5 separate regions of the Homo sapiens genome follow, and regions 1, 3, 4 and 5 are each linked to region 2. The links are contacts of gene promoters, found by promoter capture Hi-C in blood cells and fetal thymus (Javierre and others, 2016). All regions are on one chromosome and are shown on one strand. The core of a region is centred on a gene start or on the middle of the fragment in contact, and the rest is flanking DNA. Distances in the headings are between cores, read along the strand shown.

What was found. The method cuts DNA at HindIII sites, captures the fragments that hold promoters and counts their contacts. A CHiCAGO score of 5 or more calls a contact.
Region 1: a fragment that was not itself captured here is called in contact with the fragment with the promoter of PLEKHG7 in region 2 in 1 of 17 cell types (non-activated CD4 T cells); the score reaches 6.2 in non-activated CD4 T cells.
Region 3: a fragment that was not itself captured here is called in contact with the fragment with the promoter of PLEKHG7 in region 2 in 5 of 17 cell types (activated CD4 T cells, non-activated CD4 T cells, total CD8 T cells and 2 more); the score reaches 14.4 in activated CD4 T cells.
Region 4: a fragment that was not itself captured here is called in contact with the fragment with the promoter of PLEKHG7 in region 2 in 4 of 17 cell types (naive CD8 T cells, total CD4 T cells, activated CD4 T cells and 1 more); the score reaches 7.5 in naive CD8 T cells.
Region 5: a contact is called between a fragment that was not itself captured here and the fragment with the promoter of PLEKHG7 in region 2, in 3 of 17 cell types (non-activated CD4 T cells, activated CD4 T cells and fetal thymus). The highest score is 8.5, in non-activated CD4 T cells.

Annotation. Positions count from the first base shown.
Region 1 is chr12:91,599,094-91,601,835 of GRCh38, forward strand. All of the region lies in intron 1 of LOC105369896 (a long non-coding RNA gene), which reads right to left. Among named protein-coding and RNA genes, the nearest start is that of LINC02823, 270 kb to the left of the region's middle. The HindIII fragment of the contact is 729 bases long and covers 1,112-1,840 here.
Region 2 is chr12:92,701,725-92,704,424 of GRCh38, forward strand. PLEKHG7 (pleckstrin homology and RhoGEF domain containing G7) reads left to right here and starts at 1,265. Exons shown (of 17, transcript NM_001377329.1): 1 at 1,265-1,408. RefSeq lists an enhancer at 1,406-1,465. The HindIII fragment of the contact is 11,169 bases long and covers 1-1,608 here.
Region 3 is chr12:91,534,661-91,537,360 of GRCh38, forward strand. All of the region lies in intron 1 of LOC105369896 (a long non-coding RNA gene), which reads right to left. Among named protein-coding and RNA genes, the nearest start is that of LINC02823, 210 kb to the left of the region's middle. The HindIII fragment of the contact is 1,004 bases long and covers 807-1,810 here.
Region 4 is chr12:91,514,182-91,516,881 of GRCh38, forward strand. The region is part of intron 1 of LOC105369896 (a long non-coding RNA gene); the gene reads right to left. Among named protein-coding and RNA genes, the nearest start is that of LINC02823, 190 kb to the left of the region's middle. The HindIII fragment of the contact is 3,063 bases long and covers 1-2,700 here.
Region 5 is chr12:91,495,271-91,497,977 of GRCh38, forward strand. The region is part of intron 2 of LOC105369896 (a long non-coding RNA gene); the gene reads right to left. Among named protein-coding and RNA genes, the nearest start is that of LINC02823, 170 kb to the left of the region's middle. The HindIII fragment of the contact is 1,138 bases long and covers 810-1,947 here.

The DNA of each region.
Region 1 (2,742 bases), core at 226-2,725, 1.1 Mb before region 2:
TGGAAGCTGAGTTTTTACTATTAGCAATATTGAAATTAGGCAATATCTATTTATTTTCTTCTTTCCTCTTTCTCATTTTCCAATTTTAACCATTGATTTTAATTTTAATGTTTTTATTCCTAAATATACTAAACTACTCCATTTGTGAATTTTAGCTAATACCCTTACACTCCCTATTAAAATCTATGAAAATATCAGAGAGCTAATTTGACTTTACATTAGTTCTCCTCGTTTCATATTTTTGTTAGTTTTATAATGCCTTTTGATACAGTTTAGTTATGTGCCCCCTCTAAATCTCATGTTGAATTGTAATCCCCAATGTTGGAGGTGGGGCCTGGTGGGAGGCGATTGAATCATGGGGGCAGGTTTTTCATGAATAGTTTAGCACCATCCCCCAGGTGCTGTCTTATGACAGTGAGTGAGTTCTCATGAGATCTGGTCGTTCAAAAGTGTGTGGCACCTTCCTTCCCCCCAACTCTCTCTCACTCCTGCTCTCTCCCTGTGACGTGTCTGCTCCCACTTTGCCTTCCACCATGAGTAAAAGCTCCTTGAGGCCTCCCCAGAAGCCAAGCAGATGCTGGCGCTATACTTCCCTTACAGCCTGCAGAACCATGAGCCAATTAAACCTTTCTTCATAAATTACCCAGTCTCAAGTATTTCTTTATAGCAATGCAAGAATGCACTAAATACACCTTTTATTCTTAAAGCATATTATATTTATATACTATTCTGCCAAGGTTTATCTTCCTCTTTTTGTCTCAGTTCTACAGTTAAATATGTTCAGTTTACACCTCACAGACCTTATAAATGAAGTTTCTCCAGTCATTTTGTAGTGGCAGAAGTTTATTCTCTACTACATTCCTGAGCAAATACTCATGCGAATGATATTCCCAGGTAGCTCGCCTGTTCAAAACTTCCTTTGATTGGTTGTCAATGGCCTTACACTTGAAGGATATAAAAATTCATGTCTCATATTTCTTTCCTGAGTGTTGAAAAATATGTTTTATCACTTCCTAACCTAAAAAAATGCATTTTACTGTTTTCCTTTTTTTCTTGATTGAGGTAAAATTTATAAACATTGAAATTTACCCGTTTTATTTTATATTTCTGAAGCTTCTAACTATGTTTATTAATGGGTTGTAAGAATTCTGTTCCAAGTAGACTAAAGTCCCCATTTCCTTACTTGCTGTGAGCAAAGGGTTGTTTTTAGTTTCAACAGGCTCCTATATTCCTTGGCTCAGGGACCCTTTCTCTGTCTTTGAAGCCAGCAATGACCAACTGAGTCCTTCTCGTGCTTCAAATCTCATTGACCTCTCCTTCTGCCTCCTCTCTCTTGCCTTCCTCTATTACTACACATCTGACTGACTCTTCCATTTTCTGTTCTGCTTTTAAGGACTTTGTGATTAGACTGGGCCCATCCAGGTGTTCCAGGATAATCTCCCTATTTTAATGTCAGGTGATTAGTAACTTTAATGGCATCTGCAAAGTCATTTTACAACAGTATGTGAAGTCATGTTTGATTATATTTTCTTTACAACAGGAATGAGAATCTTAGGGGGACACCTTTAGAATTCTGCTTACCACATACAGACATGAAAAAACTCACTTGATGTTACTTACAAGGAAAGTATAAACTAAGCATACAATGAGATACCATTGTTCACCTTTCATTTAGGCTAAGATCAGCCAGTATGATAACATACTGATGAAGGATAGGAGTAACAAGAACTTGGGTATATTGCTACTACAAGTTTTAACTGTCATAACATTGATAGAGGGTAATGTGGCAAAATCGTAACTACAAACATAAATTTGTTTGTCCAGAAATTCTACTTCTAGAAGCTTTTCTACAGATGTTACATATGTATGAAATGAACAAGGTTGTTTACTGCATGTTGATTTTTGTAGCAAAATATTGAAAGCAAACTAAATACCCAGGGGACTAGTTAACAAGGTAGCGTCACTTGATATCAATAGAACACAATACATAGACTGCAATAGAATACATAAAAACAATGATGAGCTTCTTTATATACTGTTAGAAATGATATGTAAGATATATTATTTTTAAAAGTTATAGAACAGCAAATATTATACGCAACCAGTTGAGCAAAAAAAAGGAGTAGTAGAATATATACACCTATGTGTATTTGCTTACATCGGCATAAAATATCTCTGAAAGTATATGAGAGAAACACAATAATAATTGATGCCTTCAGGGAAGAGGAATTGGTGGTACCTGGTGGAAACTTTTGGGACTGTTTGCATCTTGAATCATGTAAACGTATAACCCAGATAATAAGCTAAATGAGTAAAACAAACTATGTAAAGTTATTTCTACCAACACCACCGTTTCTTGAAAGTAAATATTTTTACAGGAGAGGCAGGCATCTAATGAGTATCAGTCAACCAGCCAGCAGAGCAACTTCTGAATATCATGTTTTTCCATCTTTAGTATAGTTCGTATGATTAATGGTAGTCTCCCCATTTTACAGTTGAAAAGACTGAAGCCCAGAAAGACGTGCAATTACCCAAGACTGCAGAAGTGCTAAGACATTTGTCTAGGGTTCAACCCGGGGCAATTTTCTATCACAATTTTAACCACTGCATGATAAGACCATATTTTTTTTTAAAAAAAAAGAATATTATCTTAGAACAAAGAATATCCTTTTTTAAAAAAATTTATCTTTACATAAAATTAAACCCATTGCCTATTTTCCATTTTGTGTGTACAGTGGCACT
Region 2 (2,700 bases), core at 15-2,514:
TTTTCAAAGTTCTAAGTAAATGATGTTCTAGTAAGATCAATATGAGAGAATTAAAGACTAATATAAAGTTTATCACAAGGCCAACATCTATAAGTTAGACCTTTTTTTCTTTTCCTCTAAGGGCAGTGGTTCTCAAATTTTAACCCATGTAAGAATCACCTGGAAGTCTTGTTAAACACAGACTTCTGGCTGGGCACAGTGGCTCACACCTGTAATCCCAGCACTTTGGGAGGCCGAAGTGGGTGGACCACCTGAGGTCAGGAGTTCGGACAGCCTGGCCAATATGGTGAAACCCCGTCTGTACTAAAAATACAAAAGTTAGCCGGGCCCTGGTGGTGTGCACCTGTAATCTCAGCTACACAGGAAGCTGAGGTAGGAGAATCGCTTGAACCCAGGAGGTGGAGGTTGCAGTGAGCTGAGATCGTGCCACTGCACTCCAGCCTGAGTGACAGAGTGAGACCCTGTCTCAAAAAAAAACCACGGACTTCTGACCCCATCCCAGAGTTCCAGGGGTTGGAGAGCATGGAGGGGGAAGATTTTTCCTTTCTAACAAGTTCTCAAGTCATAGTGATACTGCTGGTCCAGGGACCCTACTTTAAGAACTACCGACCTCAGGGAACCTTCACAGTAAGTATCTGTAATGAGTCCAATCAATGAAAACTTCAGTGAATTAGACTTCATTAGAATTACTTCAACTTTGTTTTGGGAAAGTCTATAGACATTTTTGTTTAATGCTGCATACATATGCATTATCTCCACCTAGGCATCAAATAAATATTCTTTGGGGTACTGATCTAATGAGAATACTGGTAGATATAAATGCTCTTCCATTTGCATTTTAATTATTTGAAAACTAATGTTCACAAATTCACTCCCTGGTGCTCTAATCATTTCCTCTACTATTCAATGCTTATCAAAGCAAGTCATTAATAAAATAGATCAACACAAAATGTTTTATGATGTGAAGAAAGTAGAGTCCCAAAGAATGCATCTCACAACCTTAGAGAAAATAAATGAAATAGAAACCTAGAACTGCTTCACTGAACTATGAGTGATGATTTGTTGAATGCCTCAAGAGGAAGTAAAAAGTTACATTTGCATCATTTCTGTATTTGATCAGCCGTTGTTTACCTGACTTGTTCTTAGGCTGCCTTAGATTCTGAGCTGGCTTCCCTTTAGGCTTTTTCATAAACAAATAACTGGAAATGTCTCTAAGGAGGGGAGAGACCAGTTCCTCATTGCAGCTGGTAGCAAGGTTGCTTTCACTCAGCCAGGAGGACGCATTGTTACAGGTGTGGAACTTGTTGCTCCGAGCCCTCGCCTGGCAGCTCACTCTGGATCTGCGGGTTCTGAGGAGCCTCGGGACCCACCTGGGTGCAGTTGCCTTCAGGGACAGACCATCTTACAGGTATTAAAGGCAACATTCAGCTGCTTTCTGGGTTTCTCTCTTGCACTTTCCTTTTGTCCTATTGCTATCAGTTTCGCTTGTTTTGCTGATCTCTCCAGGTCTCATTAGAATTAGTGAATCATTAACCTGCAATGGTTTCATTTCTAGTACAGTGAGATGGCTTCCCCAACAGTGTGGGTGGGTGTTTGCTGGATTCTCAAAGCTTGGAAGGTCAAAGGTTGGTGAATTTTCTTTATGGTGACCATGTATTAATTTCCTCTTTTAAACATAAAGAAGAGTTAGCATGAATGGATTGACTTGTTAACTTTTGATTCTACCAGATCCACTGGGTGTAGTCATTTAGGGAAAGCTTCCCAGGAGCCTTAGCCATTATCTCATTTAATTTCTGCAACAGGCCTGTGAGGGAGGTTCTTTGATGTCCTCTTGGTAAATGCTGCATGGCAGTTGGCAGAGGAGAAGTGGCTTGTCCTAGGTCACACAGCCAATTGGCGGTGATACTGGAAGAGAAACCAGACCCATTTCTTCTGGTGCTTGAGCTCTTCCTGCCTTTCTGCAAACCACCTCCCTAAGCCCTGCTGTTTTTAAAGTTTCTCCATTTCCGCAGTGCATCATGTCGGCAGTTACTATTGCCTTGGTTCCAATATTTAAGACAGTGGCTAATAAATAATTCTTACCGATGTGAATCCTATTGGCCATAAATAACTTCCTACCAGCAGCTACACCCCTGTGTCTGAACGACTACAAAGGAAACCCAAAGCCGTATCCTAACCCCTCAAAAGAGGAGAGGAAAAGGCCAGAAGGACAGAGGGGAAACCCAAAGACTAAGAAATCTGATCTAACTATTATGCAAGTGCCTATGCAAATATACTGAATTCCTTTAACATTGTTGCTGCCTAGAACTTGGACAGTCTTCTAAAGGAGAAAAATAATAGAACGGCCCTGATTGTATGTATGTGTGAAAGTACCTATTGATTCAAAATTAGCTGGGTGGGGTGGTAAGCATCCATAGCCCCAACTACTCAGGAGCACTGCAGCATGAGGATTCTGTGAGGCTAGGAGTTTGAGGTTACAGTGCGATATGATCACACCTCTGCACTCAGCCTGGGCGACAGAGCCAGACTCCATCTCTAAAAAGAAAAAAAAAAAGAAAGAAAGTACCTATAGATTTGATGCTCAGCTCAGCATTTGTTTGTTGGGAGAATGAGGAACTGGCCTCTCCATGTAGCAACAATGTACCTTATTTTATCAATGGTAGGGAGGGACCATTTCATACCTCTCCAGCAATGTTGGTA
Region 3 (2,700 bases), core at 59-2,558, 1.2 Mb before region 2:
CCTTCCTTTCGATATTTTCTTATAGTTCAGGTCTCCTAGTGTTAAATTATTTCAGCCTTTGCATGTCTAAAACTGTCTTTGTTTTACTTTTTTGTCTGTAAGTTGTTTTTTTCTGAGTTAAAAATTCTAGTTTGACAGTTTTAACCTTTCAGTACATTAAAGATATTGCTCCACTGCCTTCTGGCTTACATTATTTCCAAAAACAAAACAAAACAAAACGAAACAAAAAAACCTCTGTTATCATTACCTTTGTCCTCTTCATAATGTCTTTTTTTCCCTGTCTTCCAAGATTTCCTCTTTATTATTGTTATAAGCAATTTGATTATTGCATGCTTTCATGTTTTCTTCATGTTTCTTGTGCTTCTAGTAACTATACCTTTATAGCTTTCATCAGCTTTGGGAAATCCTTAGCCATTATCTTTTCACACATTTTTTTCTCAACCCTCCCTCTTGATTCAAAACTCCAATTGGATTCAGTACTCCTAGTGTATTGACTATTGTTTACAATAATCTCTTGTATATTTCAAAATAGCTCGAAGAGAATAATTTCAATATTTCTAGCATAAAGACAAATATTTAAGTTCATGGATATATATCCCAATTACATTGATTTGATGTTTTACAAAGTATATGAATATATTAAATTATCACATGTTCCCTGAAAAGATGTACACCTGTTATGTACAAATTAAAAAAAAAAAAGCTTAAAAGAATTTTTTTTAAAAAAGCTTAAATCTTCTTGGGCTTTGTACTGGATGCAGTTGTTACTTGCAAATTATTTAATCCTTTCAAGTCTTTATATTTTAAGCTTCATTAAATGGACCATATTACTGTTTATTCTTGGGTTAATTTCCCCCACTACTGAGCCAAGACCTTTGTTAGTGCTCTAATTGATGCCTCATGAATTGTGGTTTTCTACTTTGGGTGTTAGGAACAGACACTATTGTCAACCTTTTGGAACTTAGGACACTCTTCTTTCTAATTCCTTTGGATAGTTATTTTTTTTCTGTATTAGCTAGCTTTTTCACATGAGTGTGCAAATCAGTACTTAATTGAAACCTTCATGGGTACCTTCTTCAGGTCCTTAGAGTTCTTTTTCTGTGCATCTCTCTTTTCTCTAGCACTCTGCCCTGAGGGCTCTAGACAACTTTGCTTCCTCAGACTTCCAGCTCCATCTCAACTCAGGGAAAGCATCAGATTCAGCCTGGATTCCCTTTCTCTACACTGTGGCCCAGAATATTTCTCCATCTAGTAATCTGGATCAATAATAATGAATTCTTTATTTCTTTTCTTCTATAAAACATCACTACTCTTTATAGAATGATGTCCAATGTCTTGAGCATCATTGTTCTATGTATGCTCTTACTATTATTATTTTTTAGTTATTTCCATTACTGTATCTGAAACAGATGCATCCTGAACTGGAATTCTTAACTACTTCACCATACAACTTTTTTCTTCATTTACTATTTGCTAGTTTAGTAAGATAACACTCCCCTCTTTAAAGCACCCACTACTTTGATAGAAGACAGATAAATAATTTTTTCTCAGTTGGCATTGTAACAAGTCTAACTAGACTATTCCACATTTCTATAAAACCACAGATAAGTGATAAGCCCCATGAGTCTCATGGACATCAGACTACTTTGTTTTGCGGTAAATGAAGTTCCTTGGTTGAAATGGACAAGGACTGCCATATGCAGATTTATTAAATGGAAGTACCGGTGGGAAACAAGATCAACAAGGAAAGTAACTATAAATTTGAAATAAATGTCTATTTTAATGAAAAAACAATAAGTAGTTTTTCCCAAGCTTAATGGTGTTTCAGAAAATATGTTTTACACTAAGAATACTCTCTTTAATGAGACCACAATAGTGGCTTTGTATTGACGTAAATGGAGCATTACCTGTGGCATGCCACATTTGGCCTTGTTGAAGGGATATCTCTCTGCCAACATAGCCATATTGTTCTTGAGTTCTTTGAGCATATCATATGACAGTTGCAGAGGAAAGTGGCTGATAATTGCAAAACAACTAAATTATCAATATAGTTATTTAAATCCTCCTCTACAAGATCAACTTTTTGTTGCATATTTATGTGGTAATCTAATACTCTTATACTAGAAGCACATTTTGAATGGCCTAGACATGTGCAACCTTCTCTCATTATGACCTTCGAGCTATAACATAACACCACAGAATTTTAATTCCAAATGTGATCACTATATCATGAAGAATCACCTATAACTTAGGTTTCATTTTTTTTTCTCCTTAGCCAACTTCTCAAAAAAAAAAAACCAAACAAAAAAACTTACCGCAAAGCCACAAGTATGGGTTAAAGAAGAGCCATCATTATGCCTAGCATAGGCACACAATGTGTGTGGTGTGTGAACCACCCACTCATTCAACTCAAAGGTGTCTTCAGGAGCTCTTGATTTAGTTTTCATAAACTAGATTATTTATATTTGATGGTAGATTGCTGCTGGGCATGTGCCAAAGTAATTAACAACACATATTTTATTATTAAAACTTGGATTGCATAATCATTTGGTGAACCTATGATCAAATACCCATCAATGCCTCTTAAATAGTTGACCATATAATTTATTAACAAAATTAGGATGCAAGGGTAAAGCAGGACTGTGCCAGAAAGCAGAATGTATAACCACTTTATAATACTTTACAACTCTAAGCAAGCCA
Region 4 (2,700 bases), core at 22-2,521, 1.2 Mb before region 2:
GGTTTGTTCTTTAAGCGAAGGTGGCAGGGTAAATAAAATTGTAATGTTAACGGCTGGCTCAGAGTTCCCCTTAGAGAGAACACTGTCTTTGTTTAGAAAAACACCTTGCTATTTTGCTTTAGATGTGTGAGCCCCGAGGATGTGTTCTGAAAGGATCTCAGAAGAAAAAAAAAAAGACATCTTTTTCTGTCCAAAAATTTAATAAGAATTTAAAAGAACACATGAAATAGGAAAGGGCAGAAACTCAGACATTACCCCTTCCAAAGTAAAGATAGAGATGAGAAAGAAAGAGAGAAAGAGAAGAGAGAGAGGAGAGAGAGAGAGAGGAGACAGAAGAAAGAGAAAGAGACTAGAAAAATGTAGCAAAGCAGGAATCCAGAGATGCAGGAACTCTGTGATTACTAAGAAATTTCTAGTGGGTGGCTCATGGACAAAAGCCTCTAGAACAGGTCTAATGCTCAGTATTAAACAGTTTGGAAACTATTGCTGCTATACAATACTCTTCTTGGTAAAATCTGATGCACCTGCAAATGACTTGTGTGGGTAGCATTTTGGAGAAAGCAGAGATGAATAGGTCAGCATAGGACCACATGTCATGAACAAACATTGGAGATGAGACACTCTTGAGAACTGGAGTTCAGTGGGAATCGGAATTCAAGGCTAGAGGCAAACCATGAGAATGTCAGCCATTGGAACACTGTTGAGAACCTCAAACTTACCGTCTGGGAAGGGAGATTGTTGCAAATTTATGTAAACGTTGAATGATGGTGCAAACTCAGTTGATATTAATGTTGTTTAGGACAAGATCATGAACTAGGCTGGATAATTTCTAGTTAGTTCCTTGGAAAATCACAGTAAACAAGAAGTGAGAGAAGAGGAGGAGGAGGAGAACAAGGAGAAGGAAAAAGAGGTATACAAGGCATGCAGAAAAGTAAAATAACAGAAAAGCTGTTATAGCTGAATCCAAGTATAAGGACTAATGAGGTAAAGACTGGAGAAACTAGACTCCAAATAATATAAATTGGGCATTAGCTGCCTAATAATTAAATAAAAATGGTCCTAGGAAGAAGACTGAGAATTTAGGCAGCTTTAGATGTGTGAGCCCCGAGGATGTGTTCTGAAAGGATCTCAGAAGAAAAAAAAGACATCTTTTTTTGTCCAAAAATTTAATAATAATTTAAAAGAACACATGAAATAGGAAAGGGCAGAAACTCAGACATTACCCCTTCCAAAGCAAAGATAGAGATGAGAAAGAAAGAGAGAAAGAGAAGAGGAGAGAGAGAGAGAGAGGAGAGAGAGAGCTGTAGCTGCCTAAATTCTCAGTCTTCTTCCTAGGACCATTTTTATTTAATTCAGAGTAATCCAAAAGTTATTATAAATTCAGCCTAAGCTAAATAGCCATGACTTGATTGCCAGCATAAGGATCATATCTGGCATGAAGGTCATAAAAGCTAAAACTCCATTATTATGATTCTTACAATCAGTCAATTCTTTTTAACAGGAGGTAAATTCTAAACCATTTCTAAAACAAAGCAAGGGCAAATTAGAAATATGAGCCAAGTTCTTCCTAATATGTTTAGTCATTGACATTAAGTAGTTCTACCAAAACATTTTGGTCATGGTCACAATCAGATTCTAAATAAGCAGGTTTATAATGGGGGTAAATGGGGGTAAAGAATTTGCATGGATCATGTATGTATAGTGCATTTCAGGAAATACATTTCATGCATATACCTTACACGGAATTATCCATTCTGCCTACCACTAGCCATGTATGTAAAAAGAAGTTCTCACAGGGCTGCAGCATCAGATCAGGGAGACTATAATTCTACTACATTGAGAATGAGTGAACAAATTAGGAATATTATACTCTGACAACATTTTAAGAACATTAGAAAAGACTGATGTTATCTAACGCAATCTCTAGTAATAGCAATTAACATTCATTGAGTCCTTTATGCTACCCTAAGCACTTTTCGTGTACTATCATAATTCATTCTTACAAAAATCCCATGAAGTAGCTCCATCTTATAAAGGCAGAAGCTGAGGCTTAGGGGAGCTTAGAAGAGTTTAATTACCTATCCAAGGTCACCCAATTAAGAAGCAGCAGGCAGAAACTCGGGACCTTTATACTCATTTGCCTATGAATCATGTTATTTTTACTTACTAAAAATGGATGTCAGCTTGGTTCATCTTTTGGGAGTTTTTTCCTAGATTCCTAACTTTGGCTTAGCTTGGCCACCTATTTAATTCCTGTGTGTAGCTAGTCTATGACGTTTTTTATTTTTCTTCTCACTTTTGACTCTGTGTTTACTTTTGAACTTAGGCATAGATTAGCCTATTTCCTTATAACTCTTTGATATATGGCTTGTTCTTATCTTTAGCTCTTTCTCCACTTAGCTTTTCAGCGTTCTAAACATTGAGAATTTATTATGTTCAAGATATTTTGTCAGTCTCATAAAGGGAAGTGCCAAAAGAAAACACCACAGATAATAGTTATGACTGAATTCTTTATTTTAGGGAACTAATCTCTGTATAGGGTGGGGGTAGTTCTAAAAGTCTTGGGACATAAGAAAAATTGAGATCTGGGTGATATAGACCATCACATAAGAAAGAATGACCTATCCACTGGAGTCTCTGCATAGGATGTTGATCAGGGCAAACCCCAACCCAGCTAGTCATGTGCACCTGTGTATTAAT
Region 5 (2,707 bases), core at 129-2,628, 1.2 Mb before region 2:
CATCTTTTCTGCTCTTATTCCATTTTTTTTTTTCTGAAGAAAGAAGATCCCTTTGGAGAAATCAATAAAGATCTGCTACCTAAGTGAGGATAAAATTTTCTTCCTTAAAAGTATCACATTAACTCAAATTTCAGAAAGATGATACAGTGGCAATATTTTGATCATCCCTTCGGCTCTAAACAAATAGCAATGATAGATAAAATATAAAAAAGATATGCCTTGGCTCAAACACAAGATAAACTACTTTGTGACAAGAAATGAGAGAATGTGCAGAGATGGTACTGTGGAATGGTCAAGGTTCACATCCAGAAGCAAACAGTGGAAGCCAAGAGTTTGACTCCTGTCAGAATAAGAAAATTAAGAGTATTCTTTGTGGTATTTGGGAGCTGACTTCTGCCTTTCTCAGTGAAGCCAGAGTCCTCACCTAATAAAAAGAGCCTGAGAAAGACTGTTCCATTGCAGGGGCTGTGGCACATGGTGTGATCCAGGTCTACAGGGGCACATGGTGAGCGGCAGGCCTATAGGGCAGGAGGATATAGACAGCTTTGAGCTGAACCAACCCAAACCCTCACTGGGTAGCTTCATTTGGATTTTCCCTCATACCTTCAGGATAAAATATCACAATTAGAAGAATGGTTTTTAATTCAGCCCCTGAAAGGAAGCCTTTGCTAGAAAATGATGGATGAGGGTAGAAGAGCAAAGAGAAAGAGGAAAACAAGAAGATAAAAACAAAATAAAAAAAAAACACACCCCCCTCTACACGCTATAAAAAAGTCTGTTAAACTGAAGGCAGAAACACATATTTGCAAAGCTTTCAATAAAACTTTCAGTGAAACTTTATTTATAAAAACACACAGTGGGCTGGATTTGTTTCACAGGCCATAGTTTGCCAACCTCTGACTTGGAAGATTATTATGAAAAGTCCAACAAGTAAATGCTAAAGTCCTGAATGGAGCTTTGAGCATTGTGATCTTAATACCTTGTCCTTATTTACAAAATATCTGAAAATGTTTCATAAAAATATTAGTTAAAAAAGTTTTAAATGGATGATGAAGATTGCAGTGAAATAAGCTATCCCTCCTCAGGGGTTAGAAAACTGGGAGCACATATCCAGAGATAACATGACCAGCACCTGCTAATCCTAACTGAGTTTCATTTTAAATGGTCACACAATACAAGGAAGAAAAGCCTTGAGTCTGTTCATGGTGAGAACGTCAGACAGAGACTCCCACATAAAATGAAGACTCTCAAAGACATAGCCCTTGTATAAATTGTGACTCATTAACAACAATGACAAAAAATTTCCACAAAAAGGACCAGGGCGGAAATTGTTCTATCTGGACTTTAGCTCTTGGTGGAGGAGACATATCAAGTGTTCTTAAGTCAACTGTAATACTTTTTTTGTATTATGAATTCACACTACCTAAAGGATATAAAAAAATCTCGAGTAGAGAATTGGATTTAGGTTGCTGCTGCCAGGTTGGTAGTGCCCCTTACCCCATGTTCTTTGAAAAGAGAAAAATAAACCCTTTCTGAATAATGCATTTTAAATACAGGTCTTAAAGAAGGCCCACAAATAAAATTTTAATATGTATGAAATCACTAATTTTTTTTAATTACAAAGCATGCCCCCAAAAAATACCAAGAGGGAGAGTAAGCAGAAAAATAGCTTAAGAATGAGGCCTGCAGAGACTTCATACATTGAAATTAACAGAAAGATGATATGCTTAATATGATTGAATAAATAAAAGAAGAAATTAAAAGCATAGATAAGGAGTAATAATCAATAAAAAATAATCACACATATTTGAAAAAGAACCAAAGATATATAGATGGACAGATACAGATGTAGACATGTAGGTCTTTCTATCCATGCCTATCAACACGGCTAACTATGGAGCTGTTTCTACTTCAACTTATTGCGGATTACAAAAGCTATGGTTGAGAAGCTTTGCAGAGCTGCTAGTAGACATATGGAGCTGAAGAGGCAAAAACTGGCATTCAGAGATCTACAGGTATAGAGTCTCTCAGCTGGGAACCTTTAAAAGCTATGTCCTAAGATAAAGGTGAATTGGAAGTAGACCAGTCCTCCCCCAAAATCTCAAAGCCTAATTTCATGCCCTTTCAATCCATCATAAAGAAATTTTCATCCAAAAATTTTCCCACTCTGAATAAAGATAACATCCTGTGGATATCATGTTATTTCATATTTTTTGTTATAATGTTTCATACTTTTTAAAAAATGGTTAGACAAATAAAAAGCTAGTCTTGAGCAAAAACTAAAAGAAAATAAAGCAATACAAGAAAGAGATCCAGATACTGGCATACTCGAACACAGATTCTTAAATGACTACAATTTATATACTAAAAGAGTTAAATGATAAGATGGATAATTCTGGTGGAGAATTGGAAACTATCAAGATGAATCAAATGAAATTAGAAAATTAAAGTACAATACCTAAAATTAAGTACTTGGTGGATGAGTCTACTAGTAGTTCAATCACAGCTGAACAGAAAATTAGTAAAACTGGAAGATACCCAAAATAAAATACTGAGAGATAAGATGGAAAATACAGGAAAAAGTACTATAAACCGATAGGCTCTGGTGAATTCAAAATGACTAAATTAACTAGCCACAAAGAATCTCACAGCATATTACTGAACATAATAAGAGTAATTCACATAAATACTTATAACAGTATTTATT